Linked DNA regions of Homo sapiens: region 1 is linked to region 2. The links are contacts of gene promoters, found by promoter capture Hi-C in human tissues and cell types (Jung and others, 2019). All regions are on one chromosome and are shown on one strand. Each heading gives the region's core, a stretch centred on a gene start or on the middle of the fragment in contact. The rest is flanking DNA. Distances are from core to core; before and after follow the strand shown.

Region 1 (6,715 bases), core at 1,599-4,098, 890 kb after region 2:
CGTGAAGCCATCTGTGGTTAAAGTTGTGTCATCCCCCAAATTGGCCCCAAAACGTAAGGCAGTGGAGATGCACGCTGCTGTCATTGCCGCTGTGAAGCCACTCAGCTCCAGCAGTGTCCTACAGGAACCCCCAGCCAAAAAGGCAGCTGTGGTAAGAAGTATATTCACTTTGTGGTGCTTTATTCTGTGTGGTAGGAAAGCAGGAAAGACTAACTCTCCACTAGCATTCTATCTTGAGTATATCACTTCCTGGCATTTCCTAGCATTTTAGTAATTTGGGTTACTACTGTATTTTATACTTACAGTTTGATATTTGTGAAGTAGCAGGACAGGATTTTTTAAAAGCTAATTTTTAGGTGGCAAGATATTTTGCTTATTTATATACTCAACCTTTAGATTATCGATTCTTAGATTCACAGGCTTAAAGAATCATAGCCACAATTCTAAGAAGGCAGCAAAAGAAAATGAATATGCTCAAATTAAAAAGCCTGACTCTCACTGAATTACCTGACTCTTCCTTTTGTAGGCTGTTGTCCCGCTTGTCTCTGAGGACAAATCAGTCACTGTGCCTGAAGCAGAAAATCCTAGAGACAGGTAATACTTTGTAATTCTTTCTAAACAAACTCCAGGCCCCTGTTACTGTTTAGGCTCTCTAGAGAATAACACTGATAAATAACTTTAGCAACATTCAAATAAATCTGTTGCACTTCAAATTAATTGCAAGAAAGTATGAAAATCTAGGGTTGCTGTTCTTCTTTGGTGCCATTGTTTACATTTTGCTATATTACCTAAAAGATGTTTTTTTGTTTTTTTGTTTGAGGCAGCGTCTCACTGTGTCACCCAGACTGGAGTGCAGTGGCACAATCTCTGCTCACTGCAACCTCCACTTCCCGGGTTCAAGCAATTCTCCTGCCTCAGCTTCCCAAGTAGCTGGGATTACAGGTGCCTGCCACAAGGCCTAGCTAATTTTTGTATTTTTAGTAGTGACAGGGTTTTGCCACATTGTCCAGGGTGGTCTCAAACTCCTGACGTCAAGTGATCCACCTTCCTCGTCTTCCCAAAGTGCTGGGATTACAGGCATGAGCTACCATGCCCGGCCCCTGAAAGATGTCTTTAACACCTACTTTGAGTTATAAAAATGCTTGGTGCTGGCCAGGCAAGGCGGCTTATGCCTGTAATCCCAACATTTTGGGAGACTGGGGCTGGAGAATCACTTGAGCTCAGGAGTTCAAGACCAGCCTGGACAACATAGTGAGGTCTTGTCTCTAATAAAAATCAAAGAAATAAAAAAAAAATCACATGGTGACACACACCTGTAGACCCAGCTACTTGGGAGGCGGAGGCAAAATGATCGCTTGAGCCCAGGAGGTCGAGGCTGCAGTGAGCCATGATTGTACCACTACACTCCAGCCTGGGTGACAAAGGGAGACTCTGCCTCAAAAAAAAAAAAAAAAAAAAAAAAAAAGCTTGATCCCAAATCAGTAAAAGAATTATTTCTTTATGTATGTTCTTAAAAACAAATTTTTGCTCACTTTGTGTCCGTGAGACTAGGTGATTCAGCCAACTATTTTTAAAACGGCAGTTTTCTAATAATCTTTTTTTTCTTACAGTCTTGTGCTGCCTCCAACCCAGTCCTCTTCAGATTCCTCACCCCCGGAGGTGTCTGGCCCTTCCTCATCCCAAATGAGCATGAAAACTCGCCGACTCAGCTCTGCCTCAACAGGAAAGCCCCCACTCTCTGTGGAGGATGATTTTGAGAAACTAATATGGGAGATTTCAGGAGGCAAATTGGAAGCTGAGATTGACCTGGATCCTGGGAAAGATGAAGATGACCTTCTGCTTGAGCTATCAGAAATGATTGATAGCTGAAGGTGGTAGTGAGGACACTTTAAAAAAAAAATCGCCAAAAAACTGGACTTAGTTTCATCTATTGTAACATTTACCTGAGATGATCATTTCTTTAGTCTAGAATTTGCCCCAAATCAGAAGTATACCTCTGAATTATCTGTATGTGTCCTGGATTCCTTGGGGTCAGATTTTTAAAGTTACTTTATAACCATTTTGTCCATTTGATGCCATTGTTTATCATCTTTTGAGAAAAAAGTTCTGTCATACCCTTCTCTCCACAAAAAAGAGACTGAGAGGGAGATCAAGTGAAAGGGTGCAAGCGAACTTAGTGACTCCTTGAGGTGTTTGTCAGTTTTGGCTTTTTTCTTCTTTGTTGTATTCTTTATGTATTGTCTTGATGTACTTAATATTACCTGAGTTTGAAATGGATGAAGACAGCTGCTACCATTAAGGACCAAATTTTATGCTACCACTAAACAAAAATACCCACTCAGTCTGTGTTAAATTGTATGTCTTTTTAAAGGTATTTAAAGATTCAACTAAGCTTTAAAGAGGGCTGAGCAGCTCAGGAAGCCTGTAATGTGGGCATAACTCTTTGGACCTGATCTTGATGCTTCTGCTGCTCTGTTAGCCTCTGAAGAGCAATATCTAATTTATTATTACTGTAATTTTTTAAAAGGCTTTAAAGTGCCTCAGGGGTCCCCTGAAACTAATTTTCTATTTCTGGGATTCCCTGGATTCATTATATGAGATGGTGACATGATTAGAGGAATTCTTTTTTAGTATGAAAATTGTCCTTTTTCTTCTTCAGTACTTGCCTCCTTGCTGGCATTGAATTAACACAGGGACAAAATTTGGTTAATTTTTTATTTCTAACTCTCCCAACAAACCCCTGTTGCCCAGTATTTGTTTGGTGGCCTTTAACCACCTGAGGGAAAAAATGAGCTTATTCAAGCTGCCAATATTTATCTATGGGCTGTAGCAGTACACTGAATTGTACTGTGCCAGGGATATTGAGATGCTCTGGGGGTGTATTGTATACCTGCCAGTTTTCTTCATTTCTGAATTGAGTTTTCTTTTCTTGATGTTGGTTTCCTTCATATCACCTCAAGGTTTAGATTTGTGAAGGAATAAGCATGATGGAAATAATAGTCTTGAAAGGAGATATGTTGTATATAATCAGGAGGAAGAGGAAGGAAGGACTTACCCATTTTGATATTTTGCTGTAGGTGGCCAGTTTTGTTTCTCATAGGGAAATCTGACCCACCTGTCATGTTGGCTCCTAAGGAACTGCTGTTGTAAGCGGCTCATCAAGAGTTGAACTTCACGTAGCCTTGTTGGGAATATGGAAAAGGAAGAAAGCCACAGGACTGCCCATTCAGTCTTGGGAAGATTGGGATGATTCTGCACAAGCAAAAATGACTGAAGTTTATGTATAGACACACCTCTACCAATCCATCTTCAGCTGACTGAATGTTGTATGATAGCCCTTCTCCAAAGCAGAGGTAGAATGTTCAGGTTTCACCATGGATTTTCTACTTATTTCGTTTTTGGAATCAGCTTACAGATTCCAGGTCCCTTTTGTATATATTCTTTATTCTTTTGCTTTTTTAAAAAATAATTTTGTTTCATATTTAAAGCACTTGTATTAGTCAATGTTTCGTGTTCCGCATTATTTGAACCATTTGCCCTTACAGAAAGAGAAATACTTGTTTGTGTTTTAAATAAAACTGATGTAGGAAAGTCTTGATGTTGTGAGCTAAGTAATCTTACATCATCATATCAGCCTGGGATCCATCTTGACAAGAGACCCCAGACAGAATGCTATTGGCCTTTCGTGTAAGTGCCCGAATTTCAGTTATTATTTGGCTTAGAAACCTTTCATCTGGATATATTGCCAAATTTACAAGTGTGCTCAATTTTAGCTGCATATGCTTTAGGTAAGAATTTATATTATTATAATGTGAGGATTTTTTTTCTGACACGGATACTTACTCCTTAGTGTTGTAACTCAAGCAATGCCATTAAGTTTTTAAAAGGAGGGAGGGTTTAAAAGTGATCTTAGGGAGTCTCTCTGGGCCTACTCTGGCTCAAGAGGCTGATAAAAAATAAATAAATGAATAAACTTGATCTTTAGAGTCAACGATTTAGAATTTTCAAGCATGAAGGTGCAGCAGATAAGAAATTTAATTTATAGAAGTCCAGGTTTCTTAATATGTGTGCCAATTTTTAAAATTGTAGGAAAGTATATGTTTGTTAGCTACCAAAGAACATAGATTTTTCCTATTAGTCTAAAAGTCGTCCCAACAAGTTGAATCAACTTTTCACAAAAAGCAAAAGACTATAGTTTTGAATGATAGTTTTTCATTTTAACAGTAAGAAAAGGGCCCAAATATTCCAGTTTGGTTATAGCCAGAAATAAGATAGTTTTATGTTTCATATATTTTATCTCAAGATAATAATTCCTAAAGTTCTAGCCTTAACCCTAAATCTCAGTGGTTCTTCTTTAAAGCTAGAACATAGTGTGTTTTCATCTTGATCAGTATTTGAAAGATGAGACTGATGTTTACTAATTACAATTGCAGTAACAAAGCTTGATCTATTAATATATTGATCAGAGTTCCATGATCCTTTTCTAAAATGGTGGCTTTATTTTGCCAGAATAATTCTGCAGGGTGTTTTTTTTAAGACAGAGTCTCACTCTGTTGCCCAGGATAGAATGCAGAGTGGCACAATCTTGGCTCACTGCAACTCTTGCCTCCCAGTTTCAAGCGATTCTCCTGCCTCAGCCTCCTCAGTAGTTGGGATTACAGGGGTGCACCACCACACCTGGCTAATTTTTATATTTTTAGTAGAGACAGGATTTCACCATGTTGGCCAGGCTGGTCTGGAACCCCTGACCTCAAGTGATAGGCCTTCCTCGGCCTTCCAAAGTGCTGGGATTACAGGTTGTGAGCCACCACGCCCAGCCAACAGTTCTGCAGTTCTGTAAAGTATTTGATTGCTTTGAATTTGGCTGTAGCACAGGAAATACATGGTCTCCAGTTGTAACTGCTTAATAGGTAAAACTTAAATTAGCTAACATTTATTGAGTACTTATTGTGTATCTTTAATTCACGTCCTCATTTTGACACTAAATTATACAGTACATTAAAGATGACTATTCCCGCACTGAAGTTTCAGGGTCAGTATGTTTATATATTATGTGCCATTGGGTTTGATTAGTAGATCTTTTCAAGAGTGTTTTTTAAAATCATGACTTTATGAAGCTGCTCAGTAACTCTGAAAATTCCTACAACCCAGACATTTAACTGCATTAATAATTAAGACTCCAAACCGCAATTTATTTTGAATTTGCAAAAAGATATTAGTTAAGGGGCATGAACACAATTAAAATCCTTGACCATTCTCTTAAGTTTGTTCAATAAAGTGGGCAAAAAATAAGTAATGACCGTAAATAAGAACAGCAATCAAGAATTTAGTTTTACATTTAAAAAAAGTAATTTTGGCTGGGCACGGTGGCTCACGCCTGTAATCCCAGCACTTTGGGAGGCCGAGGTGGGTGGATCATCTGAGGTCAGAAGTTTGAGACCAGCCTGGCCAACATGGCAAAACCCCATCTTTACTGAAAGTACAAAAAAATTAGCCAGGCGGGGTGGCATGCACCTATAATCCCAGCTACTTGGGAGGCTGAGGCAGGAGAATTGTGTGAACCTGGAAGGCGGAGGTTACAGTGAGCCGAGATCAATCACCACTGCACTCCAGCCTGAGCAACAGGGCAAGACTCCATCTCAAAAAAATTTTTTTTGGATTTATATTTACTGAGAGGGTCTGTTACTAAGGTATTTAGATTTGGTTGGATTTAACTGCTAAAATGTTGTAGAGTCTGAATCTATGGCATGGTAAAGAATAATCACAGCCATTCAGCAAGTTGTGAAGCTTCTGGTTGGGATGAAAGAAACTTCAAGCTGAGAGGAAGAATGTTCTGAAATATTTGGGAGGTTTGGCAGACTCCTTTCTCAGGGGTATGTTCATTTGGGCCAGTGATTCTGAAGCCCACTTTGCAGATATCTTAGGTGTGTCATGAAGTTTTACAAGAACATTGTGAGTAGTTGCAATAACAAAAGGAAACAAATGTTTCATATTACTTTCCATTATCCGTGTCTCAGGTATTCTTCCAGAGATACTTTAGCCATGTGTAAGTGAATACACTTCCATACAATATCATGCGTAAAACACATGACATTCTGAACCCTGCCGTTTTTATTAAAGAAAATTTCAAATGTATTTAGAATTAAAGTATAATAAACTCCACATAGTCACCCAGTTTCAACAATTGCAGATTCATGGCCAATCCTCTCTTCTTTACCTTACCAACTATCCATCACCCCCTATTCTGACCTACTTGACTGGGCTGAGGGTGAGGCAAGCAAGGTATTGGGCACAATTTAAGGAGGCACTCACTTTTCAAGGCTTGTATTTGCACATGTGATTGTGATTCCTACAATTATGCTCAATCCTTAGCCTTGCCTTATCTGAGATCTGGCCCTGCTGGCTCCACTGAGTTATTTTGAAGTAAATCTCAAGCATAGTATACCTTGCTTTTTTTTTCATCATGTATATTGGATATCGTTTCATATCGGGACACAAAGACCTTTAATCTTAGTAACAGTTGCATAGAATTGCACCCTATGAAGATGCAGTAATTTATAATAGTCCCTATTGATAGACATTTAGGTTGCTTCCCATCTTGGTATTTTAAACAATGTTGTGATGATTACATTATACCACACATGTAAGTTTGTATGGAGGATAAGTACCTAGAAATAGAGCTTAATAATTTACAGTACCACTATTTTTTCATTTC
Region 2 (7,195 bases), core at 3,079-5,578:
CTGTGTCTGTGCACTCAGACTTCCGAGTTGGCAGTGTGAGGCAAGGTTGATTTCAATGAAGCCAGAATTCACAAAGGGGCAAGGCTTTGATTTTGACGATGAGGGGATAGTGGGATGTCCAGAAATGGGAAGGATACCTTTTGGGGGATGATCCAGAGTGAACCAGAGCTTAAAGCGATTGGGATAGCGGGCCTGCAGTTCCTCTAAGTCCTCCCGCAAGATGATATCCTTTTCTGTCTGAAATGCAAAGGGGAAGGAAAGTCTTTAGGAGTCTTCTCAGGCCCACATAAAAAGTTTTCTGCTATACAACTTTCCAACTAAGAAAAAGAATGTTAAGGGAAAGCAAAAGTTCTAGGAAATAAGCAAGACTTGCAGTGCTTTTAGGGAGTTAGGATGAGGAGAAGAGGGGAACAGCCTTTATCTACACATTATGAAGGAACAAAGATGAATATTTAACCAAGAAGATCTAAGTTTCTGTGCTCCAGACTAGATACCTTAAAAGTTTTCTTCTTTCCTTGGGGACCAGGGAAGGAATTTGATTCAGTGCTCTGTCCTTTTCCTCCTTATTGAAAGAGGACCCTGTGCCTTACAGAGGGGACCTTGGGCAGAGGCTAAAACAGGGCACTGGGCCAGTTCTGCCCATCCATACCACGTCTCTCAGCCCTACCCACACAGCAACTTTGAAGTCTTAGGGTGGAGGAAAACAAACCAACCTGGTTGGCAAAAAGCAGAAAGCACTGGGTTGGATCTTCAGGGACTTTCAGGATGGCCCGGATCAGCTGTAGCATTGGGGTGATTCCTGCATGAAGATACCCCACAGTGAAATGTAGTGGCCACACTCTCTGCCCTGTCCTGGCTCCTTAGCTGACCAGCCCTTTCATCTTCATTCTGCTCATTCACCACTCCACTCCATTTTCCTTTAGCATTCTCATCCTCTAAACTCTTCCTGCATATTCTCCAACATCTGTATTTCCGGGCACCCTTCAAATTCATCTAAGTTCATATTGTAGAAATCTTTCTTAGGAACTAATCTAAGACTCTTCTGAAAGTCCTTTGGAGGCTAGGACTCCAGTGTCACAAATGACTACAAGTACCTCCGGATTCAATGATGAGGGTTCTAGAACACTGTATTTGCAGAGGTTAAGTGCATGTACTTAGGCACTAGGCAGAGCCAAATACTAATTTTGCTCCAGGCCATTACCAGTGAAATAACCCTGTGGAAATCATTTAGCCTCTCTGGAACCCCATTGTCTCTCTGTAAAAGGAAAAGGCTAGTACCTACTTCATAGATACCTATATATGTGTCTAATTTTTGTGTCTAATATATAGTAGTGTATTAGACTACACAGTGTCTAATGCACAGTAGTGTCCAATGCTAATTTTCTTTCTTCCTAGCTAGTCATTCCTAGCTGCTTCTCTCTTCTCTCACCTAAAACTATTAGATCCATTCAAAATGAGGAAAGCTCATTTAATTTGTTTCTCTAATTCCATCAGTTAAAATTTTTTTTGGTTTCTACCTGCTTATGATTTTGTTTTTCAGATACTAGGGAGTTCTAAGCATTGCTGGAAATCCCCTGATGAACAACAGCTTGGCTATGGTTACCAGTCTTCAGAGGGTCACCTAGGAATTTGCATGGCAACAGTCAACAATGGTGGGAGAGAAAGGCCCTCAGTGTAATGCACCTGTCCCGCCGGCAATCATTCCCAGTTTCTTCGCCACTCGGGGTTCTGGTGGAGATTTCTTGTTGGGCTGAATGTTAAAATGCCCTGAGAGGTCAGGTGAAGAGAGCAGTGGAAGAATAAAGTCAATACAGCGAACTTAGAAAACAAATGCAGAGTTGAAAATATGCCTGAGGCCAGTTGAGCAGCTGCTATGACATCTGATCCTGGAGCTTGGGTGGAAGCTTGAGTTGAGCCAGCCCTGACAATAATATAGTTGAGGGACAATGGGGCCAGGGCTATCTGTGAGTCAGTTCAGCGCCACACAATGTATCAGCTGCTTCTGGCAAAGTGTCACTCCCTGGTGAAGGAGACAGGCACAGAGCCAGGTGTGAATCTATTTTCCCAAGTGGCACACAGCAGCTCCAGGGACTTGCTAATGCACCCAGCTGTTCCCATGGGAAGGGCTGAAAGCTATCTCTGGCTCACTCCACAGCTCACCCAGGGGGGCAAATTTTTGAAGGTGGGGAAGAGGGGCACATGTTTGCTTTAGTAATCTCCACAGCTGCCATGGCTAGGGAATTCAAGTGGAGGAGGAACTGCTTCCTGTGGCAAATGGGGCTGAGAAACATGCCTTTCTATTGTATCAGCGCTATGTTTAGAAGGAAGGGCGGCCCTGGCCCTTACGTGCATACACATGTGTACACACAGCCATACTGTGCCAAGAGGACTATGGGAACTGATAAAGTGGGAGACAGGCTCAAGGAGAAGACAGGTCATTACCTTTTCCAGTGTAAGTGAGCAACCCGCTTGGCCCCCGAAACTCCACCACATCCCCAACCTTCAGGCTATCCAGGTACTGAGACATCTTCCCTCCCTCAGGAAATTTGGGGTGCACACCCTTCAGGTAGACCTTACAAGACAGAGAGAAAAATACCTTATTTGGAATGTCACTGGTTTCTGAGCCCCATGTTGACTAAACCTCCCTGAGGCTGGGGCAGGGATCAGATATGTGCTATCTTTTCCCCGTCTACATACTTTCTTTCTTTCTTTTTTTTTTTTGAGTCAGAGTTTTGCTCTTGCTGCCCAGGCTTGAGTGCAGTGGCGCAATCTTGGCTCACTGCAACCTCCGCCTCCTGGGTTCAAGTGAGTCTCCTGCCTCAGTCTCCTGAGTAGCTCATACTTTCTTCACATCCACAGAGTACATACCATTTCCTGCTGTCAGGCAAATCTTAGAAATTTCTACAAATCCCAGAAAGAATGGGTAAGCAGCCCCTGGGTCCCTTCCTAGCCCCTTACCTTGATGACAAGATCCACATAGCCTTGATCCTCATCACTGGTGACAGGAGTGTATGGCCTGATGACCAGGCTGCCATCAATTCGGGTGGAGAGGTAGATATGTTTGCCTGGGGACCGTGCAGAGAGCTACATAAGGGTTGTCTGTGATGTGCTGCATCCCTCAAAATACTCAAAGAGATTTGAGAGAACAAGATGTCTTGCTTCCTGCTGTGGTCCCAAGGAGCTACAAGGCAGGGAAGATTTGCCCCATTGAGCCCTCAGTTGGATCTCTTATAAGCGCCCAGTTGAGGAAACACTTATTTCCAGCGTTTCCTGCCAGTTACTGCCAGGACCTTGACAGATGAGCCAAAAGGGTCTGGGCAATGGGAAAAAGTTAGTAGTGCTTGCTCAGAGGGAGTAATTAGCAAATCCTGCAGGGAAGAGGCAAGACTGTTGAGTGTTAAAGCTGGATGGGGGTCATGGAAGCCACACTCTAGAGGGGCCCAGTGGCACCTCACAGCTTGGAGGATGCAGAGCCAAGTGGGGGAAGGGGAATGGTGTGTGGAGCAAACCGGTTGAAGCAGCGTGTTTCATGAGATCCCAGGAGGGGAGTCACCTTCTGAGGATACCAGGGAAAGGAGCCCATTCCACACTTTCCTTACCCACAGGCAGCCCCAGAGTGTGGTGGGCGGTGGGCAGGGCAAAGCGGAACCTCTTGGTGTTGTGGCTCACAGTCTGGAGGGTGGAGGACACAAGTGTTTCACCAAGCGCGCCTGGCGCTGCCACGTCCCTTGGACATCCCAACCACCGTGGGTGCTGTACCCTCCATGCCAGGAGCACTCTGGTCCCCTCCTTCACCCTGGCCCTTTCTTCCCCAACTTACCGTCTTGTCTAGCAGTCGTAGCAGGTACTTTTCATTGGGGTCCAGGAGAGTGACCTGAGGCCGGCGGGACCTCCGAACCAAGTAGGAGCCCACAGCCAGGCCGAGCAGAGTGACCAGCCCCACCCCCAGGGAGGCCAGCAGGACGGGGCTCTGTGGGTAGAGGAGGCAGCGTGACCGCCAGGCTGGGTAAGAGCCCGGGGCTTGGGTGGTGACCGTCCCAGGGGTGGCGATCCCGAGCTCCAGCGCGGAGGCATGCCAAGGGCAGAGGGGTAACCTGGCGGAGTCCCGAGCCCGGATGTGCGGGATCGGGACCCCAGCATCCACGGTGGGCCCAGAGCCCTGCGGGGCGGGGTCGGCAGCGACAGCCCCTGGTCCGGAGCTGAGTGGCCAGAACCAGATGGGGAGGGGTCCCCCAGTGGAGGATACTGAATGAGGGTCTTACCGTCTGGATCCCCATGACGGAGCGCCTTTTCCTCCACCACCTGACAAGCCGACAGATCCCACAATGCGCCGCGGGGCGGGTCGGAGGGCGGGGCAGGCCGGGGGCGGGGCCGGGCAGGAGGCAGGACCTCGCGGCTGGGGGGGCAGGAGGCGGGGCCTGGCGGGGGGGGGGGGGGGTGTCTGTCGGGGGCGGGGCCTAGCAGGAGGTGGCGGCGGCGGGGCCTTTTGGGGGCGGGGTCCGGCAGAGGCGGGGCTGGGCCCCTCTGCGCGCCACCCTTTCCCTCCGCTACTCGGTGGCTCAGGGTCTCCGGTGCTTATTCAATACTTTTTTTTTTTTTTTTGAGTCGGAGCCTCGCTCTGTCGCCCAGGCTGGAGTGCAGTGGCGCGATCTCGGTTACTGCAACCTCCGCCTCCCAGTTTCAAGTGGTTCTCCTGGCTCCGCCTCCCGAGTATCTGGGACTACTGGCGTGCGCCACCACGCCCGGCTAATTTTTTTTTTGTATTTTTAGTACAGACTGGGTTTCACCGTGTTGGTCAGGGTGGTCTCGAGCTCCAGGGCTCAAATAATCTACCCGCTTCGGCCTCCCAACGTGTTGGGATTACAGGCGTGAGCCATCGCGCCCGGCCCCAAGATCTTTTAAGACCGCAGCTCCAGCCTCTCCTCCCAGCGAGGTGGTCCCTGCCACTTCGACCCGCTTATATCCGAACTGGATGGGAGTTCTGCCTAAGGTAGAACCACGCTAAATTGGGGGATTGGAAATCTCTTGAGTCTGCGGGTGCTGAGCGGAGAGTGTAACGATGAACCAGAGACAGGCTCAAAGTAGAGCAGAAGGGCCTGAAGTTAATCATTGTGCAGTCACCTTAGTTTTTCAACCGGCTGAATTGCAGCAAGAGAATGGAACAGCCCAGAGGAGTCTCTTACAGGAGTGAACAGTGGCATGGCAACTTCATTTCCTTTTGACAAAAGACTGATTTTGTTTACAGCGCCAAGCCGTCAGCCTATCAGGATGATTCAGGAGCTTCCTTTGGTTTCAAAGACCAAGCTTCACATCCTGATTTGGGTTCTTGTGCCCTTAGGGTCAAAGAAGTGGGCTTTGGAGGCAGAGTGTACAGAATAAGAATCTTGCCTCTAGCACTTATTGGCTCTGTGACCTTAGATAGCTTACTCAACCTGAGTTTCTTCATCTACAGATGGATATAAGATGGATATCTACAGATGGATATATATTATTATCTACAGATAGATTGTATCTAGTTCATAGCTTTGGTGTGAGGCTTCAGTGAGATATGTTAACGTGCTTAGTGTAGTGCCTGTCATAAAGCAAAATATTCAACAGTTGGCAGCTACTATTATAACTTAAAAGACAGCACAGAGGGTCAGCTATGGTTTTAGGAATGAGCTCTGCCTGGGGCACAAGCATGGGACAGGAGGAGGCAGGAAAAAACATCAGGAGCCGCTGGAGCTACAGATTTCCCAAGATGACCATTCTTTCTCATACATGAGTTTCTCAACTAGAATGACATTTGCTCTTTGATATACCGTGATGGATGAGATCTCTGCAGATGTCAGTGTCAACATCTTAAACTAATACCATCAGGGCAGCAGGGACATTAGAGCCCCCAGTTTTCAGTTGTATTTGGTGAACTCTGTGAATGATCCAAGAGATACTTAGTTTTCCTTTTCCTCTCCACTGGCTGAAAATGTTCCTAAGACCCCAGTACATGTTCCTCTGAATTTTTTAAGCAGCCTGCACACTGACTTGAGGGAAGTGAGTGCACCAGATCATGGTGACATGCCAATCCATGCAGAGAGGGTTGAAAAGGGGAAGGAAGGGACCCTTCCTCTTTTCTGTTCCGAGAGAATGAGGCGATTATGTTCCGGTGCTTCTGACATCCCCACTGCTGGCTTGGTTAAGAAGCCACACTACTGATCCTTGCCACTGCTCCACTCTGGCTAAAGAGGTTCTAGGCCTTCCTCCCTCTAGTGGATAGATGTGGCAAGAGAGGGGGAAGTATGGAACGAAAGGAGAGCATAACTACAACTCGGGCTTCTCTCAGTGATTGCATTTTCTGAACCCCAAAGTGGCACATTCTAACAAGTGTGAGTGTATCACTGGGAACCACAGGACAGAATGGTTGGGTGTGGGCTTATCCTGGAAACTAAGTGTTGGACTCAGTAATTGTGGGAAGGCTCTTTTGCTCCTGAAAATGAATGCTGCAGGAGTGGTGGGAAGGGGCTGATGGCCTGGCAGGTCTTCCTGTCTCAGATTCTGTGGTGAATTGAACTCCACTCCACCACGACTCATGGTAATCTTACATTACTCCTAGTTTGGAGGAAAAGATAGGCATTTCTGAATTTTTATTTAACCCAATCTTTTAAGTTTAGGATTTCCTCCTGGGTATACAATAAAGAATAGAACAGGCTGGGTTCACGCCTGTAATCCCATCACTTTGGGAGGCTGGATGGATCACTTGAGCCCAGGAGTTTGAGACCAGCCTGGGCAACATGGCAAAATCCTGTCTTTACAAAAATACAAAAATTAGCCAAGTGCGATGGCGCTGGCCTGTAGTCCTAGATACTAAGGAGGCTGAGGTGGGGGTATTGCTTGAGCCTGGGAGATCAACGCTGCAGTGAGCCATGATTGCGCCACTGCACTCCAGCCTGGGCAATAGAGCAAGACCCTGTTTAAAAAAATATATATATATAATGTAGTGTGAGGGGGAAGTAGAATTTCAAACCTGTGTTTTATAATTCTGAATTAGGATGTAAAACTCAGTGGCCCTTTTTAGATAAGATATCCAGAAAGAAGCTTGGAGGAAGACTTGCTCATACTGAGGAGATGGCATGGAGGAATCAGACCAGGAGATGTAATAATGACAAAAAAATTAACATTTATTGAGCATGTGCAATATAGCAAGAACTAGGTAAATTGC

The links. Contacts are between HindIII fragments. The study calls those that stand out against the background at their distance.
Region 1: a fragment that was not itself captured here is called in contact with the fragment with the promoter of CYB5R1 in region 2 in 1 of the 25 tissues and cell types used here (hippocampus).

The regions. Positions count from the first base shown.
Region 1 is chr1:203,850,531-203,857,245 of GRCh38, forward strand. ZBED6 (zinc finger BED-type containing 6) reads left to right here. Exons shown (of 17, transcript NM_001395895.1): 15 at 1-151; 16 at 527-594; 17 at 1,611-3,594. It overlaps ZC3H11A (zinc finger CCCH-type containing 11A), which reads left to right. Exons shown (of 18, transcript NM_001376342.1): 16 at 1-151; 17 at 527-594; 18 at 1,611-3,594. The coding sequence ends at 1,869. Among named protein-coding and RNA genes, the nearest start is that of SNRPE, 7.7 kb to the right of the region's middle. The HindIII fragment of the contact is 4,531 bases long and covers 584-5,114 here.
Region 2 is chr1:202,962,929-202,970,123 of GRCh38, forward strand. CYB5R1 (cytochrome b5 reductase 1) reads right to left here and starts at 4,329. Exons shown (of 9, transcript NM_016243.3): 1 at 4,263-4,329; 2 at 3,821-3,970; 3 at 3,600-3,672; 4 at 2,959-3,065; 5 at 2,443-2,572; 6 at 1,684-1,767; 7 at 714-799; 8 at 138-237. The coding sequence starts at 4,277. RefSeq lists silencers at 4,237-4,286, 4,357-4,516, 5,133-5,427. The HindIII fragment of the contact is 6,951 bases long and covers 1-6,187 here.